Regions from separate parts of the Homo sapiens genome. Here region 2 is linked to region 1. The links are contacts of gene promoters, found by promoter capture Hi-C in blood cells and fetal thymus (Javierre and others, 2016). All regions are on one chromosome and are shown on one strand. Each heading gives the region's core, a stretch centred on a gene start or on the middle of the fragment in contact. The rest is flanking DNA. Distances are from core to core; before and after follow the strand shown. Region 1 holds the start of POLR1B (RNA polymerase I subunit B). Region 2 holds the start of NT5DC4 (5'-nucleotidase domain containing 4).

Region 1 (3,730 bases), core at 583-3,082:
CCATGCCCGGCTAATTTTTGTATTTTTTAGTAGAGATGGGGTTTCACCAGGTTGGCCAGGCTGGTCTGGAACTCCTGACCTCAAGTGATCCACCCGCCTTGACCTCCCAAAGTGCAGGGATTACAGTCAAGAGCCACCACACCCAGCCGACTGGCTTATTTTTAAATTAGTGCTTTTCTAAAATTTCTCAATTGGATTTTTTTTTTTTAAAGACAGGTCTCACTCTGTTACCGAGGATGGAGTGCAGCGGCACAATCATAGCTCATTGCAGCCTCAAATTCCTGGGTTCAACTTATCCTCCCACCTCAGCCTCCCGAGTAGCTGGGACCAGCTACTTGGGTGCGCACCACCATGCCCCACTAATTTTTAAATTTTTGTGGAGATGGGGTTTCACTATGTTATCCAAGCTGGTCTTGAAATCCTGGGCTCAAGTCATCCTTCTGCCTTGGCCTCCCAAAGTCCTGGATTACAGGTGTGAGCCACTGCACCCAGCCCGATTAACTTTTAATTAGGAATTTTTTCTCACAGACATGATACTGTAACAATCCAGGCACAATACAAATAACCCCCACCCCTCTAGTCTTTCTAAACAATAAATCTTAATGGCTCCCATATTATTTGCCGAATAGAGTTCAAGAATCAGACTGGCAATCAAAGCTCTCCACATTATCTGTATCCCTATCTCCCACAACACAAATCTTACCCAACAAAACCACAGGTAGGGTCCCCGAAGCATGTGACTCTGCTCTACTCTTCCCCTGGACGAAATGCACGTTTCTCACTTCTTGAACTCATCTAATCCTGCCCTTTCTCAAACTCCTGGATTAGTTGCGCCGCCCATAGGCTCCCGCAGTAGCCCACACAATCCCTTGGCAGAGCAGTTCTCAAGAACATTGGCATGCACTGCTTTCATTATCTTCACCCCTTCAACCCCCAAACACGACAGGGAGCACTTAAATGCATGAACTGTCTCGTACACGGGACTGCCTCCTCCACATCCTCTGAGCCTAGTGCCTGGAGACACTGGGGATGCTTACTAAACGAAGCTTTCCCCCACCATACTCACTTGAATTCTGCTACCATTACTCTACGCTAATAATGCAATTACACTTTTCGATTCAATCTTGCTTTCATGACTCATTTATACCTTCCTCGGCACCTGCTTAATTCATAACAAATGACGAGTAGTTTCTCTCTTTAAAGCTCTAAGAGAAGGAAACTGAAGGATAACCTTGAACATTACACTGTACCTACAAATACGTTCGGGATCTTTCGAGGTACGTTTTGGAGAGGTAAGTCTTCAAGTGATATAAAGCCGTGTGCATTGTGAAGCACATCCCCAGATAAGCCACTTCCTCACTCTCACAGCACCCCGAAACTGTCCAAACTACGGTTCACAATCACTTTTCACTCCAGAATCACGAATACATCTCTTAAGACGCCTCGACTCCAAGTCTCACGAAGGCCAGTACCGCGTCCTGTTTAACATGTTGTGCTCTCCCGCTTACCCACCAAGCCTGTCAGGATCAAGGAGCACATGCATCTGGGGTCATACTGTGACCTCCCAGCCACCTCCCTGGGATTGGCCTCGCCGCGGCAAGGGCGCCGGCGGACGCCGCGCTCACCTGCACCGCGAGGCCGAGACCCTCGTGCACAGCGTAGTTGAAGGACTCCACGTGCGCCCGCGTCAGCTCCTGCAACGCTGCCTTTTGCTGTTCCCGCGGGATTCCATAAGAGGGGTCAGTCAAGTGCTTTAGGCTAGGCCCGCTGGGCAGGTTCCGCCACCGGCTGCCAGGATCCATGTGGCCACCTGCACACCGGACGCCAGTCTCTCGGTACACGCCGGACGCCAGTCTCTCGGTACACGCCGGAAGTAGTGGCCGCAGTCCCGTTTCCGCAGCCTGCTGGGAAATGTAGTTCCCTCTCGTTCCACCCGCCCTAGGCCCTGCGGTTTCGGTTTCTCGGGGTCAACGTAGAACCAAAAACGTCGAGTGAACGGGCCGATTAAGGCCGTGTCCAGCCAGAGCGTGGCGGGCCCTCCCTTTCTCCCATATTCCGCCCCACTCATCTCCCCGCTCGCGAAAGATGCCGCAGGTGGAAACCCGCTCCCCGCCCAGTTGAGCATGTGACCTCTTTGGCTCTCATTGGCTCAGTCAATTAGGATCGGAGGAGAGCGGTCTTCTCAGGCTCTCTTCTGTTTCCCTTCACCTGTTCCCAGTCCCACGCTGATGCCGACCCTGGGGAGTCATCCGGCCAAAGTCGTTGCTTCAACGAAAAAGCGGATGCCGGGCCCCGGGCTGACTCTCTACCCAACTCCTAACTCGCGAGGCTCACCCCTGGGAAGCCAAGGAGTGGTCGGGCCCCGCTAACCTCGTCGCATCTTCCGGACTGGAGGCCTGGGGGAGGCCTGGGGAAGGAGGTGGGAGAGGAGTCGGGCGGTCCCGGATGGAGGGGATGGGGCAGCGGGGCGTCCAACTGGATTTACAGCCTGAATTTCTTTTGCGTTCCTGTGAGCCCCTTACCTCCCCAGAATACTGATTAATCAGGGAATGCCTGCTGGTTTTTCAACTTTATTGTGTTTGTGTTTAACAGCTATATTGCGTTATAACTGGCATACAATAAACCACACATTTAAAGTGTACGCGTTAAGTTTTGACCTATGTATACAACCATGCAGCCATCACCACAATTAAAACAATGAATTAAACCACCACTACCCAGTATCCTCCTGCCCCTGATAGTCCCTCCTTACTGTCAACTTCCCCTTTCCTAGTTCAGCTGGTACTTTTCATTCCTATATCACTTTTTATAAAAAATTCGAGCCGGGAGTCTGTTGCACAGGCTGGTCTTGAACTTCCGGCCTCTAGTGATCCTCTCGCCTTGCCTCCCTAAATGCTGGGATTACAGGCATGAGCCACCGCGCGCGCCCGGCCAACTGAGTAGTTGTAGTTCTTTATATAGCCTATACTAGTCCTTGTCAGATCCATGATTTGCAAATATTTTTCTCCCATTCTGTGGGTTTTTACTTTCTTGCTGGTGTCCTTTGAAGCAAAACGTTTTAATTTTGAAGTGTAGTTTTTTTCTTTTGTTGCCTGTCTTTTTATATCATATCTAAGACATCATTGTGTAATCCAAGGTCATGAGGATTTAAAAAAAAATTTATGGGTACATAATTAGCATATTTATGAGGTATATGAGATGTTTTCATATAGGCATACGATGTAATCATCACAGGAGGGTAGATGGGGTTTCCATCACCTCAAGCATTCATCATTTCTGTCATGAACATTCCAATTGTACTTCCTCAGTTATTTTTGAAGGTACAACAAATTATTGCTGACTGCAGTCACCCTGTTGTGCTATCAAATACTAGATATTTTTCAATCATGGGGATTTTCACCTATATTTTCTACTAAGAGTTTTGTAGTTTCAACTCTTACATTTAAGTCTTTGACTCATTCTGAGCTAATTTTTGTATATGGTGTGAGAAAGGCATATCACTTTATTCCTTTGCATGTGGATATCCAGTTGTCCTAACACCATTTGTTAAAAAGACTATTCTTTCCCTCATCAAATTGTCTTGGCCTCCTTGTCGAAAATCAGTTCACTATAGATGCAAGGGTTTATTTTTGACTCTCAGTTCTATTCTCTTGATCTGTATGTCTATCTACATTTATCTGTATATCTGTCTACAAACTACACAGATTTGATTAATACAGCTTTGTAATAA
Region 2 (3,943 bases), core at 74-2,573, 180 kb before region 1:
CTCCCCCAAGGTGAGCAGTCCTCCCCTCCTGGCCTGCCACTCTCCCGGCACCTTTGTCCCTTACTCCGAGAGGAAGGTGAAGCCATAGGCACCCAGCAGCACATTCCCGTGGGCGTCCACCTTCAGCAGGTTCCCATAGAGTTCATCGAACACCAGCCGCCTGCAGACGGGGGGTCGGGGGGCACTGTGGGTGGGGGTACCAAGGCCGGGTGGCCTCCCACCTGTCCTGAGCCACACACCTGGTGGGGAAGGTGGGGTCGTAGGTGTAGCGCAGGATCTCATGCGGGTACCCAATGCACACCAGGCGCTCCAGCAGCAGCTCGAAGGTCAGGGCCTCATAAGCTGGGGACTTGTAGGCTGCAGAGGCCCGGACAGAATCAGGGCTTTGGTGCCCAGCTGCCCACCCCTGCTCCCTCCAGCTCCCAATACGCTGTGTTCCAGCCCTCTCTACCAGCCAGAGTGTAGTCCATGTCGAAGCCAAAGCAACGAATCTTCCCCAGCGCCAGGCTGCGGTTGACAAAAATCCTGGGGAGAGAGAGGAGGATGTTGGCATCAGTCCACCAGCCCCCCAGAATCCAAGGCCCAAGGACAGAGGGGGTGGAAACCCCGCAGAGGAGGGCAGAGCACCCCCTGCAGCTGCAGAAAGCACAGGGGAAGCAGGTCAGGCCAAGCCAGGGCCCTGCCTGGACCCATGTGTGTCTGAAGGCAAGTGTGAGTGTGCATGTAAGCATGTGTGAGCATGTGTGCAAGCGTGCATCTGAGTGTGTGCGGGCAATCAGCCGCTTGCTGTCCCACCATGCAGGCATGTTATAGGCATCCAACCCTGTAAGAAAGTAGGTGCAGTTGTTGGTGTGAGGGTTGTCACCTTCTGAAATGGGACCCCAGTGTCCAAATTCAGAGATGATGTGTTTGTCACAATTGGATAGCACATGTCACTGTGTCCGTGGTGAAGGGGAGAGATCTTCGTGGAGGGAAGGAAGTGAAGAGGACCTCCCGCCGGAGTGTGTGTGGTCAGTTCCCTGATGGGTTGTTACAGCTATGGAAGTGCGTCCCTTGTGAGTGCAAGTGTACGTCTGCATTTTGGGAGTCCCCATAGCTGTGTATTTAAAGGAGCCCCTGTGTGCTGCTGTGGCGTGTGGGGTGTTTATGGGCTGAGACCCCTGGCCCCCACCCCAGGTGCCCATCTCACCGCTGGTGCCAGTCCTGCTTCGGGCCTTGAGGGGAGACCAGTCCCTCCGGCTCTCTCCAGTCTACACTGGCCATCGTCACCCAGAGTGAGGAGGAGGCAAGTGTCCCTTCCTCAGCCTCCTGCACACTATCAGTGGGGCCCAGCCACTCTCCTCTCCCTCAGAAGCTTCAGGCACCACTGACCCAGCTGGCCCCACCCTGTGCTCCCATCTCCCCCGAGCCCCTTTGAGGGAGGAGTCAGCCAGGACAGGCTCTGGTATCCCATCCTTTTCTCTAGAGCAAAAGCAGCAAGGATCTAGGAAGAGCAATTCATGTCCACTGCACCCTCCTCATTCCTAGGGCTTATGCATCCATGGACCTCAGCGGCCTGGAGAGTAGCGGAGAACCCAGAATGAGGCAAATGACGGGATACAAAGTCAGGAGGCTCCGTACTGTACTCATGATAAAAGAAATAACTCAGTACTCTTGCTTTATGCACAATTCTGACACATTTGGTTATCAAATTTCCCAGCTCAAGGCCATTTAGAGAAGACATTGCTAGAAGCATGCCAAGGGCTATAAGAATTGGGAAGATAACTGGGATCTCAGAATGGGGGGGTGGCAGAAAGTACAAAAGGAAGTGTCAAAAAGCAGAACCACTGGGGCCATTTAGTGTAGAGTTCTAAATACTCCCTGAGGGCCCATACCACTGGCTCCACAACCAAGCATGTGACTTCCATTTGGAGCGGTGACCTGGATCATCCAGAAAGACTTAACTGAAGTGCCAGGCCCTCTTTTAAAAAGAAAGACAAGGCTGGGCACAGTGGCTCACGCCTGTAATCCCAGCACTTTGGGAGGCCAAGGTGGGTGGATACGTGGTCAGGAGATCAAGACCAGCCTGGCCAAGATGGTGAAACCCTGTCTCTACTAAAAATACGAAGAAAAAAAAAATTGCCCTCTTGGGAGCCTGAGGCAGGAGAAAAAAAAAATTAGCCTCTTGGCAGCTTCTCGGGAGGCTGAGGCAGGAGAATTGCTTGAACCCAGGGGTTGGAGGTTGCAATGAGCCGAGATTGCTGCACTCCAGGCTGGGCAACAGAGTGAGATCCTGTCAATAAAAAGGGAAAGAAAAAGGAAGAAAGAAGGAAGGAAGGAAGGAAGGAAGGGAAAAGAAAAGAAAAGAAAAGAAAAAGAAAGAAAGAAAGAAAGAAAGAAAGAAAGAAAGAAAGAAAGAAAGAAAGAAAGAAAGAAAGAGAAAGAAAGAAAGAAAGAAAAAGAAAGAAAGAAAGGAAAGAAAGAAAGAGAAAGAAAGGAGGGAGGGAGGGAGGGAGGGAGGGAAGGAAGGAAGGAAGGGAAAGGAAAGGAAATGAAGAAAAGGAAAGGAAGAAAGAAAAGGGCCTGGCGCAGTGGCTCACACCTGTAATCCCAGCACTTTGGGAGGCCAAGGCGGGCAGATCACTAGGTCGGGAGTTTGAGACAAGCCTGGCCAGCACGGTGAAACCCCATCTCTACTAACAATACCAAGATTAACCAGGCATGGTTGCGCATGCCTGTAATCCCAGCTACTCAGGAGGCTGAGGTGGGAGAACCACTTGAACCCAGAAAGCAGAGGTTGCAGTCATCCAAGATCGTGCCACTGCACTCCAGCCTGGGCAACACAGCAAGACTCCGTCTCAAAAAAAAAAAAAAAAAAAAAAGACAGACAAGTTTACAGTCGGTTTCAGCACTTTCTCTCTAAAATGGCTAAACTAAACTAAATGAAGGTGGCACTCTTAAAAGGATAAAAGTTATCTGGAACAACAACAGAAAAACATATCCATGGAAGAGCTCCTTCCTTGACAAAGCCAGGTGAGCAAGCACAGTTGTGTGCTGCGGAACGATGTTCCGCCCAACAGTGGACTGCGTATGCCACTGAGTCCCATAAGGTGATAAGGAGCTCAACAACTCCTATGGCTTAGTGACCTCATCGCCATCATAATGCAAAGCATCACTCACATGTTTGTGGTGATGCTGGCTAGGAGAAATAGGCTGTACCCTGCAGCCGAGGTGTGTAGTAGGCTGTACCATCTAGGTTTGTGTAAGTGCACTCTATGACATCACACAATGGTGAAATCGACTAATGACACGTTTTTCAGAACAGATCCCTGTGGTCAAGCCCCGCATGACTGTATTAAGATGGTGAGGCAAGGATATGGAGGCTGTAGGATATGTGTTTCCTCATCGGATGGAGGAATGGAGGATGGATGGAGAGATGGGTGGATGCATGAATGAGTGAATGGACAGACAGTTGGATGGGTAGATTCGTGGATAGACGGGCTGATGGTTAGCAGGCTATATACAGCAGCCTTCACGGAAGGTGTCAGGGGAGAACTGAGCTTCAGAAATCAGGAGGCTGTCTGGAGTCGCTTCCACTCATTATTCCATGCGCTCTGCTCATCTCATGGGAGCCCTTTAAGCCCCTTTTCCACATTGCCTGGCTCCTTTCTAGGTCAGAAAAGAGAAGGAGGAGTAATACCTGGTTAGGAGAAGTCTCTAGGGGTTGCTCAGCCCTTCCACTGGGAGGCATCATGGCAGCTGTACAAAACCTGCCTTTCCTATAGCTGAACTTAGGCTCTATCTTGAAGGCTCTGTGCACCTGAGGGTGGTGAAGCCATCCAGCAACGTTCAGGTACGATGAATCACTTCAGTGGTTTCTCGGGTCCCTTCTCCAGGTACCTCTTCTGGGGTCAACTCGACAGTGTGGGACTTATCCGCAGCCACACTGGTAATTGGGAAGGGC

Evidence for each region. Contacts are between HindIII fragments. The CHiCAGO score rates a contact against its expected background, and 5 or more counts as called.
Region 2: the fragment with the promoter of NT5DC4 here is called in contact with the fragment with the promoter of POLR1B in region 1 in 7 of 17 cell types (erythroblasts, neutrophils, M1 macrophages and 4 more); the score reaches 10.2 in erythroblasts.

What each region holds. Positions count from the first base shown.
Region 1 is chr2:112,540,567-112,544,296 of GRCh38, reverse strand. It overlaps POLR1B (RNA polymerase I subunit B), which reads right to left and starts at 1,832. Exons shown (of 15, transcript NM_019014.6): 1 at 1,626-1,832. The coding sequence starts at 1,802. TTL (tubulin tyrosine ligase) reads right to left here. Exons shown (of 7, transcript NM_153712.5): 7 at 2,558-3,730. LOC105373562 (a long non-coding RNA gene) reads left to right here and starts at 2,085. Exons shown (of 2, transcript NR_136321.1): 1 at 2,085-2,094; 2 at 2,219-2,641. RefSeq lists an enhancer at 1,800-1,949. The HindIII fragment of the contact is 8,470 bases long and covers 1,049-3,730 here.
Region 2 is chr2:112,718,400-112,722,342 of GRCh38, reverse strand. It overlaps NT5DC4 (5'-nucleotidase domain containing 4), which reads right to left and starts at 1,323. Exons shown (of 17, transcript NM_001393655.1): 1 at 1,190-1,323; 2 at 452-525; 3 at 240-357; 4 at 65-160. The coding sequence starts at 1,263. The HindIII fragment of the contact is 3,072 bases long and covers 1-1,356 here.